Linked DNA regions of Homo sapiens: region 2 is linked to region 1. The links are contacts of gene promoters, found by promoter capture Hi-C in blood cells and fetal thymus (Javierre and others, 2016). All regions are on one chromosome and are shown on one strand. The core of a region is centred on a gene start or on the middle of the fragment in contact, and the rest is flanking DNA. Distances in the headings are between cores, read along the strand shown. Region 1 holds the start of ELAC2 (elaC ribonuclease Z 2). Region 2 holds the start of TMEM220 (transmembrane protein 220).

What was found. The method cuts DNA at HindIII sites, captures the fragments that hold promoters and counts their contacts. A CHiCAGO score of 5 or more calls a contact.
Region 2: a contact is called between the fragment with the promoter of TMEM220 here and the fragment with the promoter of ELAC2 in region 1, in 1 of 17 cell types (M0 macrophages). The highest score is 5.2, in M0 macrophages.

Annotation. Positions count from the first base shown.
Region 1 is chr17:13,016,284-13,022,452 of GRCh38, forward strand. ELAC2 (elaC ribonuclease Z 2) reads right to left here and starts at 1,744. Exons shown (of 24, transcript NM_018127.7): 1 at 1,420-1,744; 2 at 788-838; 3 at 579-649. The coding sequence starts at 1,664. RefSeq lists enhancers at 1,060-1,560, 1,072-1,181, 1,202-1,261 and a silencer at 1,782-1,861. The HindIII fragment of the contact is 8,738 bases long and covers 1-6,169 here.
Region 2 is chr17:10,727,494-10,733,375 of GRCh38, forward strand. It overlaps TMEM220 (transmembrane protein 220), which reads right to left and starts at 2,530. Exons shown (of 6, transcript NM_001004313.3): 1 at 2,287-2,530; 2 at 1,538-1,567. The coding sequence starts at 2,358. TMEM220-AS1 (TMEM220 antisense RNA 1) reads left to right here and starts at 2,284. Exons shown (of 4, transcript NR_073458.1): 1 at 2,284-2,407. RefSeq lists enhancers at 1,982-2,568, 2,569-3,155 and silencers at 2,169-2,338, 2,349-2,588. The HindIII fragment of the contact is 4,877 bases long and covers 285-5,161 here.

The sequences.
Region 1 (6,169 bases), core at 494-2,993:
CTGCCAATGTGCCAATGGCGTCTGCGGTAAACATATTAACTGTAATCACCACTGCTAGACTCTCCAGTTTACTGCCACAAATCTCTGTCCCCGCAACGCAAGAAACTAAGTGGATGGTAACACTTAAGAGGTGGTATCCATATTAAAATCTGTTCTCCTGAGTCACAGCTTTTAATGCTCTGTGCTGCTGCTGACTGGGCTGGTATAAAAAGAATTCCAGGCCAGGTGCGGTGGCTCATGCCTGTAATCCCAGCACTCTGGGAGGCCGAGACAGGAGGATCGCAGAAGTTTGAGACCAGCCTGGGCAACATAGCAAAACCCCGTCGCTACAAAACATACAAAAAAAATTAGCCAGGTGTGATGGGGCACACGTGTGGTCCCAGCTATTTGGGAGGCTGAGGTGAGGGGATCACCTGAGCCCAGAAGGCAAAGGTTGCAGTGAGCCAAGATCACGCCACTGACAAAAAAAAAAAAAAAAAAAAAAGTAGCTGCCCACCCCAGACTTGGAAAAATGGTAAAGCCGGTTAAAATCCCAGAGACTTCCCACCAGCCTCTGACACTGCAAAGAATATACTCACCACTTAAGCCCCCAACATTAGACCAGTGCATTCGTGTCAGGAATATGTTGTCCAGGCGAGCAACCTTTAACCTAAGAATGAAAAAACATTTAAACAGGATAACATGAACAGAACAAGGACCACTTTTGCTATAAAAAACAACTGGCCTCTCATTTCGGCTTTCAAGCCCCGTAATCAACTCCCCCTCCGAAAGCAAGAGACTGACTCACTTGTGCTCCTGCATGAGTCTCTGAACGCCTTCTCCACAGTTGAAGAGATACCTACAAGACAAACATTACACAAGACATTCAGAAGGTTTTATTCTGTAAACTCTCTGACACCAATTAGATGTTTTATTGTAGACTCTGGAAAAAAAAAAAAGAAAAAAAAATTAAAAGTCCACGTTGGACTACCGAGCCACATTTATGCTGGTGGGTTTTGAGCCCTCCTTAGCAGAGGTGGAGAGGAGTGGGGGCCTGTGTGTGTGGGTGCTAGGACAAAATGAGTCCTTTCTCCACCACCGGCTACACACCAGATCTGTCCACCCCACACGCTAACAACGACACACTGGCCTTGGGGTGCACGGAAGAGGGTGGAGCTCCGAAAGTGCTGACAGCCAGGCCGGGGCCCAAGGGTTGGGAAAAGGACGCTCAGACCCAGGCCTGAAGTTCTTCACAGATCCGCAGAAATCACATGGATGCAAAGAATCTCGGATTTCCCACCCACCATAACTCCACGAACCCCCGCAACAGTGAACCACATGTGTGAAGCAGGGAAGCCGAAGCCCTGGGAGGTGCCCCGATGCTCAGAGGCTGCGCCGCACTGAGGGCCCAGCGGGACGGGGCGTGGCTCGTTGACTGACCGGTTGAACTCGGAGAAGACGTAGAGCGCGGCGCCCGAGTCCCGGCTACCCGCTGCCACCACCTGCAGGTACACGGTGTTTGGGCCGCCGGAGCACCCCGACGGTCCGCGCTTCTCTCGCGTGCGCAGGTGCCGCAGCGGGTCCTTGCGCGGCCGCTCGCGGCGGGCGGGTGCCTGCGATATGGTGCGTCCCTGCGACATGGTGCGTCCGGCCGCGGACCGCAGCAGCGAGCAAAGCGCCCACATGCGCCCGTCTCCACCAAAACTGAGAAAGCCGCCGGTCACCTACGCCCGCGTTTCCCGTGCACCACCTAGCCGCTCCGCATGGCGGATCCAGCCAATCAGCGCGCCGTGCACCGAGCTTCCCGCCTACGCGAGGCTGCTCATCCAATAGAAAGGAGCTTTACCGCTCGGGACTTGTCAATTGACAGTGGCCATAGAGTAGAGGAATACTAGAGCGTCTCAAGCGGCCCCGCCCCTAGTTCTGTTCCGGTTTGCCGGCCGCAATTTTTTCCGGAAGCTGTTTTTCTCCTGGGGCGGGACTTCCGGAAGCACAGTGCCAGGAAAAGCCTTCCTGGGGAAGGCGGGACCTAGGAGTTTGGAGTTTCGCTAAAACGCTCCTGTTCTCACCAGATAAGAGCTGTGTCCTCCGGGCACGTCAGTCCCTCAGAGCTTGAGTTAGAGGTGGTTGTAGTGGTTGTGAGGATTAAATGTGAGGAAATCAATTGTATTGAGCATTAGCATAAGCGCTTTGCTAATTTTATTTCCATTGTAATTCGTATGCATACATGTTAGAACTTGATCATTTTTACGTGGTGTCCCGAGCTTGTAGTCCCAGCTACTTGGGAGGCTGAGGCAGGAGAATCGCTTAAGCGCGGAGGCGGAGGTTGCGGTGAGTCGAAATCGCGCCACTGCACTCCAGCCTGGGTGACACCTCGAGACCCTGTCTCAAAACAAAACAAAACAAAACAAAAATTGTAGTGTTTTTTGGAAAGAAAAGCAAGAATAGAGGACAAGCTCTAAAGCAAGAGTCTTGGCTCATTTGTTAGCTGCGTGATCTTGACCTCTCAGAGCCTCAGCTTTCTTATGTGTAAAATGTAATAACAGCAATAACAGTATCTCCTACTTCAGAATATAGAATTCAGTCACCTGATAATATATCAATAGACCTTTGAGTGGCACTGTCACAGAAGAGGCACCCAGTAAATGATAGAAAATTAATACAAAATGTTTCAACTCCTAGACAATATAGCTGACCAGGGACATCACAGAGGTAGATGTCCCAATACCAGCTTTTTGAAAAAAACACCCAGTCCCCTCTTATGTAGCTAATGAGGATTTCTCACTGAAAGGGATATCAGTTAAAGCCGCTAGAAATACAGGGAGCTCCCTTAAAAGAGGAAGATAATTTACCTGGAAGCTCCACTCAAATATGATTTTTTAAAGATAATTTACCTGGAAGCTCCACTGACATATGATTTTTTTAAATAAATACTGAAAGATGTCACTTTTATTCAGGAAGTAAGGGAGATTCAAGTCATGTAGATTCCTACTCGAAAATCTTGACACCTGACTTTCCAGGATCACATTTTCATATGGAGACCAGTTTCCTCTTGGTTTCTTCAGTTAAGTCAAAACTACACGTTCCTCTTTCCCCATATATTTTTGCTCATTAGTGTATTTCTTGAGCTGTTTTCATTCAAATATGAAATTTTTTATGGAAGATTATCACCCACGGTGTGAAAACGTTTTGTACTTGAAATAACCATCCCAGTGAGGGTCAGGAAAACACTTCAGATCTACTTTACACAGTTAGAGGGCGTTACAAACTGAAAAGATTATCATACCACCATCTCCATAAGTATTTGAAATAAAAATGATAGTTTTTAAAAGTTGCTTAAAGCCTGGGCACCGTGGCACATATCTGTAATCCCAGCACTTTGGGAGGCCAAGGCGGGAGAATAGCTTCAGGCTAGTAGTTCAAAACCTGCTCTGTGGCCAGGCATGGTGGCTTATGCCTGTAATCCCAGCACTTTGGGAGGCCGAGGCAGGTGGATCACCTGAGGTCAGGAGTTCGAGACCAGCCTGGCCAACATGATGAAACCCCGTCTCTACTAAAAACACAAAAATTAGCCGGGAGTGGTTGCATGGGCCTGTAATCCCAGCTACTGGGGAGGTTGAGGCAGGAGAATCACTTGAACCCCAGAGACAGAGGTTGCAGTGAGCCAAGATCACACCATTGCACTCCAGCCTGGGTGACAGAGGGAGATTCCATCTCAAAAACAAACAAACAAACCAGCTCTGGCAACAAAGCGAGACCTCATCTCTACCAAAAAATACTAAAAAATTTAAAAATAAGTAAAAATTAGCTGGACATGGTGGCACACACCTGTTGTCCCAGCTACTCTGAAGGCTGAGACAGGAGGATCACATGAACCCAGGGGTTTGAGGCTGCAGTGAGCTATGATCATACCACTTTACTCCAGCCTGGCTGACAGAGTGAGACACTCTCTACAAAAAAAAAAAAAAAAAAAAAAGAAAAAGAAAATTAATTCATTAAAACTACTTTTAAAAAGTGTAGTGCAATAAATAAAATACTGATTTTTTTCCTGTGATGACTGCTTTGATCCTTTTAAAAAATATATCAAATTTCACAAACAAAAATACATTGGTTCCTCTATTTTATTGGTGCCCTATGTGCATATCTATCTGTTGGGTAATCTCAAACTACTTATCTCAAAATTATAGGAGGAATCACTTTTGGTCATCGACTTATATAAAATTCTGAGGGCTGGATGCTATTTAGGTTGTTTCTAGGGCCCAGTGTACTTTCTGCACTTATGCTTTGGGTCATATTTTTATTCCTGGTATATGAAGACAATAGCTAGTACTTCTTCAATCTGAGGTTATACTGGAATGTAAATTTCATGAGCCTGGGATTTGTCTATCTGGTCCTCTGCTGTATCATTAGCTCCTAGGACAGAGTCTGGCTTGTGGCAGACAATAAATACTAGGAAATTAGAAGCAAGCCAGTAGCTTAAATGAGGTTTTCAGTTTACAACTAAGCAGGGCCTAAAATTGAATCAAGACAACAATGTATGTGTTTTCTGAAGGGGATTGGTGTGACTGGTACCTCCAAAAGGATAGTTCAGAGAGTCTGAAACAGAAAAGTGTCTCTGGACTTGCTGGAGTAGAGGCAGCCTGACCATCGGGACAGCAGAGAAAGTGGAAATCGAGGCGACAGACTTTCAGAAGTCAGTGATATTAACAATTAATATAATACAGCCACTTCCTCTTGCTTTGAGTCTCTTTTTGTTATCCATTTTGTATATGGGCAGCTTGTGGCTTGAAATCACTTTCAGTCCTTTTGTTGGTCACGGTTGTGTTTAGTAAGAATAGCCTGTCTCTGCTCCTTGCAGTGGCTGCTGGGTGGCTCAATGGGAGTGGAACCTCACACTCACAGGTGTGGGTCCTGGGTACTGGCCCTGCTGGGGGTGCTTTGGTTCATTTCCCATTGCCTCTCCATCCATGTAGACTGTCCACATTCAGTAGTTAGGCTGAGCTTCTCTGAATGGTGGTCAGCCTCCAAAAGGATGAAATGAAATTGCAATGCTTCTGAAGAATTAGGCCCAGAAGTCAACGCAAGACACAGACAGCACCCACCTAGATTCAAAGGGAGGAAAATTATATTCTACCTCTTGAGGGGAGAAGTATCAAAGTCACATTGCAAAAGAGCCCTTGACGTGGAAAAGTCCAGGCTTTCTTGGAACCCTCTGATTATCCTACGGGGGGGTCCTATGAAGAGATGGCTGCCAGGCAGAATAATCTGGCCAATGAATGCTGGGAGCAGTACATTTTCATATGCCTGTAGTTACAAAGGTATAATTTATAACTTGACTTTCTTCTGTACACGCTTGTAAGTATGGTTGCCATAAGCTAGTCCACTCATATGTGGCCATCTCTTGGGTATATTTATAAATCAGACTTTTGTACCTACAAAGCTGGGGCAGTTCCTGCGATCCCCAAGATCTGGTGATCTGACCAAGGGACACATACTTTGGGACCCTGTCTGAAATACCCTCTGGCTTTCTCCACACAGACATTCATTCATTGATTCATTCAGTACACTCACACACACACACACACGAGTTTCTAGACACTCTTCTAGGGTTCTAGATGCTGTACTAAGACCTTGGTGTACAGAAAGATGAACAAGGTCTTGCTCTCAGAAAGCTCAGAAAGTTGGTGTCTTGGGCACAGGGATGGGGCCCCAGGGCACACAGGAAAACATTATAATAGATGCTTTTGTCTTCATTGGGTCTGAGGTGTTTCTGGTTTAGAGCCCTAGAAACCCAACAACTCCAAACTTGATGGCCACAATGCATCAGAGGGATAATTGGTTTTTGAAACAAAAGTTACTTTGGGCTGGGCACGATGGCTCACAACTGTAATCCCAGCACTTTGGGAGGCCCAGGCGGGTGGATGACTTGAGGTCAGGAGTTTGAGACCAGCCTGGCCAACATGGCGAAACCCCGTCTCCACTAAAAATACAAAAATTAGCTAGGCGTGGTGGTGGGCACCCGTAACCCCAGCTGCTCAGGAGGCTAAGGCAGGAGAATCACTTGAACCCGGGAGGCGGAGGTTGCAGTGAGCCAAGATCGTGCCATTGCACTCCAGCCTGGGCAACAGAGCGAGACTCAGTCTCAAAAAAAAAAAAAAAGTCTGCAGTCACGTACAGCAATGTCCTAGAC
Region 2 (5,882 bases), core at 1,280-3,779, 2.3 Mb before region 1:
GGAGCAGTGTGACATGCAGGTGAATATACGCAGCAGTCTTTTGGAAATTCACCATTAAGCTGGATGTCTGAGACTTGTCTGCAGGGAAATAATATTTGGAATTCAAGATACGGACCAGGGTGCCAAGGCAAAGGCAGTTTGATTTGATTCAGAGGCATACTGATCTGGATAGTAAATATCAGAATGTGGTTTTACTGCACTAAAAAAACAAAACCTGGATAGAATTTCATGTTATAATTCCAGATACCATCATCCTTGTTGCTCCTCTGTCAATATTATTCTAAAGCTTAAGAGTCATCTCCTTGGTGTACTGTACAGTCTTGTGTATCTATATTGAGAGAAACTGGGCAAAATTCAGATATTTTGGAAGATAAAAGATATTTAGAGCCGGGCGCGGTGACTCATGTCTGTAATCCCAGCACTTTGGGAGGCTGAGGCAGGTGGATCACCTGAGGTCGAGAGTTCAAGACCAGCTTGACCAACATGGAGAAACCCTGTCTCTACTAAAAATACAAAATTAGCTGGGTGTGGTGGCGCATGCCTGTAATCCCAGTTACTTGGGACACTGAGGCAGAAGAATCACTCAAACCTGGGAGGTAGAGGTTGCGGTGAGCCTAGATTGCGCCATTGCACTCCAGCCTGGGCAACAAGAGCAAAACTCCGTCTCAAAAAGAAAAAAAAAAAAAGATATTTAGAAGATGTATGGAACAATGGCCCCCTCCTCCAAATGGTTCAAATCAGAGCCTTGCTTATATGAAGACTGTAGGTTTTACAGGATTTAATACTTTTCTTTGCTTTTTTTTTTTCTTTTTTTTCTTTGCTTTTTTTTTTTTGAGATGGAGTCTCACTCTGTCGCCCAGACTGGAGTGCAGTGGCACGATCTCAGCACACTGCAACTTCTGCCTCCTGGGTTCCAGCGAGTCTCCTGCTTCAGCTTCCCTAGTAGCTGGGGACTACAGGCGCATGCCACCACGCCTGGCTAATTTTTGTATTTTTTGGTGGAGACGGGGTTTCACCATGTTGCTCAGGCTGATCTAGAACTCCTGACCTCAAGTGATCCACCCGCCTTGGCCTCCCAGAGTGCTGAGATTGCAGGCGTGAGCCACCTTGCCCAGCCAGGAGTTAATACTTTCTAGAAATATAAGTCACTGAATTAGCAGAACCTCAGAACTTAAGCCTGTTATTTTCCGGTCAAAGGTTTGCATTGAGTGTCTGGCTAGAAACTCATAAGGAATTGTTCAACTGATCTTGAGAGGCCTACTCTAGGTCCTCAAGAAAGTCCTCAGTTGGGCCATCTAACCAAAGGGAATACTGCAGAAAGACCTGTTTCCAGAAAGTTCGAAATTCACACACACATTACATTAGAACTCTGATCCTGCCTATTAATATTTTAGGAAAAAGCGCTTCCCAAGGGTTTGATTTTTAAGTTTCTCAGAAAATTAAGCAGGGAGGAGGGGTAAAGACATAAAACCGTGTGTTTTGTGCCGTTCCCCAATTCTTCCAAACGGAGGAAAGCCTGGAAGCGGCTCATACTCACCACCCACACCTCTGCATCTGGGTCATTTACCTGGAACGCCAGAATACCAAGGTGTTAGCAGACATCCTGTGCTGTTCCATTCCTTTTAAATTCATTTAAGCACATTTTTTATTAATTTGTTAAGTGCCAGACACTGCAATAGGCATCGAGGGTACAAAATCTGAACAGGATATAGTCCAGATGAGGACGGGTGAAGGGGTTTCTGGCTGACACAACAGATGTTTTTAACAGGCAGCCACACATTTTTGAAAAGCCTTCACGGGAGCTCTGGAGAGGACTCGCCAACCCAGAACGGGTATTTTAAGGGCCCTCCACCCCCACCAGTCTCAAGAAATGAGGGAAATGATTATGAAGGGGGTCCCCAAGCCGACTAAAAAGTTTAATGATGCTATAAAGGGTTTTGGTCGGCTTCGTCTCCTAGGCCCTGAGATATGTTCAGTGTCGTCCGCGGGCCGGACGTTAACGCAGGAGCCAGGGCCGCTTCTTCTGAGGTCCCCTGGGAAGTTCCACGCGCGGAACCAGCCCCTTCCAGGGTGTGAGCCCTGGTATGGGACTCGCTTCCATGAACACATCCGCGTCTCTTAGACGGGGGAGAAAGTGGGGGCTCCCCAAGCAGAAAGCCCAAGTCCCGTCCTCCCCACTAACTGTGCGCCCCTGCGACTCTGCCCGCTAGTCAGTTACACGGCCCGCTAGGCCAGGGGGCGGAGCTGGGAGCCGGGCGGGTCCCCCTCCCACCGCGGCCGCCTGACCTGCACCAAGGCCGCCAGCGCGAAGAAGGCGGCCATGAGTCCGTTGCAGGCCCGCCACAGCGCTGGCGCCATGGCTCGGAGAACACGGCGCGGGGCGGTGAGTCCTGCCACGTGCGGGGCGGTGAGTCCTGCCACGTACGGTCCGCCTTCCTCCTTGCGCGGAGGGACCGAGACCCCCGCCTCGGTTTCGGTGCCTTGGGGACACTGCCGTGGCCGTCGCTCCGCCCGGGGGCGGGGAGCGAAGGGCGTGGGTGTAGCCCCCACTCAGCGACCCATTCAGCCCGCCCCGAACGCCGCGGGGTGTAGGCGGCGCCGTCCTGGTTTCGCGGATGGGAAAGCGAGTCCCTCAGGGAGCGCAGGTCTCGGTGGTGGACGGAAGTCGAATTTGAACCCGTATAGGTTCAACTCCAAACCCTGTTTTCACTAAAGCTACCTTCCTCACAAAAAAAAAAAAAAAGAAGAAAGAAAAAAAAGAAGGAAAAAAGGAAGGAAGGCAGGCGGGAGGGGAGAGAGGAAGAAAGAGAAAGAAAGAAAAAGAAAGAAGGAAAGAAAGGGCTGGGCGCAGTGGCTCACGCCTGTAATCCCAGCACTGTGGGAGGCCGAGGTGGGCGGATCACCTGAGGTCAGGAGTTCGAAAGCAGCCTGGCCAACATGGTGAAACCCCGTATCTCTACTAAAAATACGAAAAAATTAGTCGGGCGTGGTGGCGGGAGCCTGTAATCCCAGCTACTCAGGAGGCTGAGGCAGGAGAATTGCTTGAACCCGGGCGGCGGAGGTTGCAGTGAGCCCAGATTGTGCCACTGCACTCCAGCCTGGGCAACAAAGCGAGACTCCTCAAAAAAAAAAGGATAAAAATTGTTTTTACAAAAATAAGAAAGAGAAAGAAAAAGAGATGTGTGTGTGTGTGTGTGTGTGTGTGTGTGTGTGTGTGTGTGTGTTCTGTTTAGTATTTATGCATTTCCTTCCAAAGCTCAGGAACTTTCAAATCCCTGTAAGCATTATGGTAATTTCTAGAGTGACGACAGTTATATTAACATCTTATACGGCTCACAGCTTTTCGGCAGACAGGCTCATTTATCTTCATGGGCTTTTATTATAAAAGATATTTACATATTATACATATTTACAATTCTCTCCCACCACCAAAACCAACAAAATTTCCAAAATTGCTCATGAATTTCTTATGAACCGAAGACACTGAAATATTCACTGTTCTCCCCTAGTCTGTCTGGTCTTTTTCTGTTTTGTAATTCGCCCTTCTGCTTAGTTCCTCCCCGGGCTCATTTACACATCCATAGGCCTCATTTCTGCTGTTCTAAAGAGTCTTTATCGCTTCAAATCAGGAGCTTCTGTGCCTGTCCTCTTTTCCTTTGAGCTAAATCTCCTAAAACTGTCTAGTTTTTTTTTTCTTTCCCTCTCAGTTTCATTCTTTTCACGAAACACTTATTTCAAGAACGTTGTCTGCTCTGTGCCTGGTGCTGGGACCGTGAAGGTCCCGTGCCGGGACTAGGCAGGGAGCCTGGCGGCTGGCGGGGGTGGGCACCCGTGTTTGCAGAGGTGGGGTGGGGACAGCGGGGACCAGCACTGGGTGGAGTTCCACAGCTAAATCAGCCCTGGGATTGGAAACAAGCGAAGACTATTCTCACTGTGCTTTTCCTTACATAAAAGAAAAAAATGAGAGCGAGAGTGCTAGGGGCTGACTTGCATTCCCCCTGCACCCCCAATTCATATGCTGAAGCCCTAACCCCCAGTGCCTCAAAATGGGACTGCATTTGCAGACAGGGACTTGACAGAGATGATTAAGTTAAAATGAGGTTATAGGGTGGACCCTAATCCAATATGACTAGTGTCCTGATACGAAGAGGGGACAGTTACAGAGGGAAGACCACATGGGCACACAGGGAGAAGACGGCCGTCTGCAAGCCAAGGGGAGAGGCCTCATGAGAAACCAACCCTACCAACATCCTGAATTTGGACTTCCAGCCTCCAGAACTGTGAGAAAATAAATTTCCGTTGTTTAAGCCACCTAGACTGTGGTACTTTGTTGGGACAGTCCTAGCAAATTAATACAGGGAATGATTATAATACCCACAAGGAAACAATGGCATGGAAGTGCTTTTAAGCTCTTGAATGCCATACAACCACCATGAAGTTTTATAGTTTTCACTGTTGTCTGGGACTTTCTTTTTTTATTTCTATTTTTTTGAGACAAAGTCTTGCTCTGTTGCCCAGGCTGGAGTGCAGTGGCACGATCTCAGCTCACTGCAACCTCTGCCTCCTGGGTTCAAGTGATTCTCCTGCCTCAGCCTCCAGAGTAGCTGGGACTACAGGCGCCCACCACCATGCTGGGCTAATTTTTGTATTTTTTTTAGTAGAGATGGAGTTTCACCATATTGGCCAGGCTGGTCTCGAATTCCTGACCTCATGATCTGCCTGCCTCGGCCTCCCACAGTGCTGGGATTACAGGCATGAGCCACTGCACCCGGCTGGGACTTTCAAAGTCACCTTAGTGAGCGTCTGTTGGTTTTGCCTTTGCAGGGTTCAGTCCCCTTTCTTCGAGGATCAGTGTCTTTAGTACTGTGGATTACCACATGCACTATGGGTGGATGTGGACTACAGGGTTGACCGTGCTCCCCTCCTTTTGGGGATAGGCAGGTGACTTTGGCCTGCCAGCTGACATATCCCATTCTGTTGACCACTGTGATTGGGTCTAGGATGGGTATAGGATCCAAATTGCCCAGATTCAATCCTAGGACCTATATGGGACTTAGGTTGTCAGTAAAGGACAACCTCAGTTGAACTGAATTTTGGATCATCAATGATGTGTTCCAAATATTTGCTAAATCTGGCAATCCTACTCACACTATTAAAGAGAAGCTTTCTTTGTGATGAATGTGTAGAGCTGGTAGAATGTGAGCCTGGAGCTGTCAGGAGAAAGCCTCACAGGGAGAAAGGCTTTCTGCAGGTGAAGTTTAAAAGCCTGGATCCAGCCATGCCTGAAAATGGAAGAATCTCACAACCAACAGAGTCTCTTCTTTACATAAGCCCGTGTGAATTGGGTTTTTGTAATTTGCAACAAAGAATGATGACTTGTAAAGTCATGATTCAATAGTTAAGGCAATGTGTGAAATCCTTGCAAACCTCCTGCTATAGGTTTGTCCAGGCTTTGCAGAGACACGGAAGAGAAGGCTTAGTCTGAAAAGTAATGAAAAATACGTTTAAATGAATCCAATATCTCAGACAGCTCTGCTTGAAGAGTAATTTCATTTCCCTTTTTAGCAAAAGGCTATGATACAATACTGCAGAGAAGATGAGGTTTTAAAGGCAGTAGGGTCTTGTCAAAGCTGGCTTCCCTCTGCAGAAAGGGCAGCACAAAGGACCCTTCATCCTGCTGGACACTCCCTGGCTGCCCAGTCAGTGACAGCATCATAAAAGCAATTGAGCCACAGGAGTGAGGTGAGCTGGACTCACTTCCCCGCTGGAATCCGAGAATGGCTGGACATCTGCCCTCTGAGAACTTGGAAATAGAGGTGCTTGCTTATTCCCTGAGAGTAGGGTTGTTAATCCAATGCTAAGAGTTGGAGCAGAGACAGGAA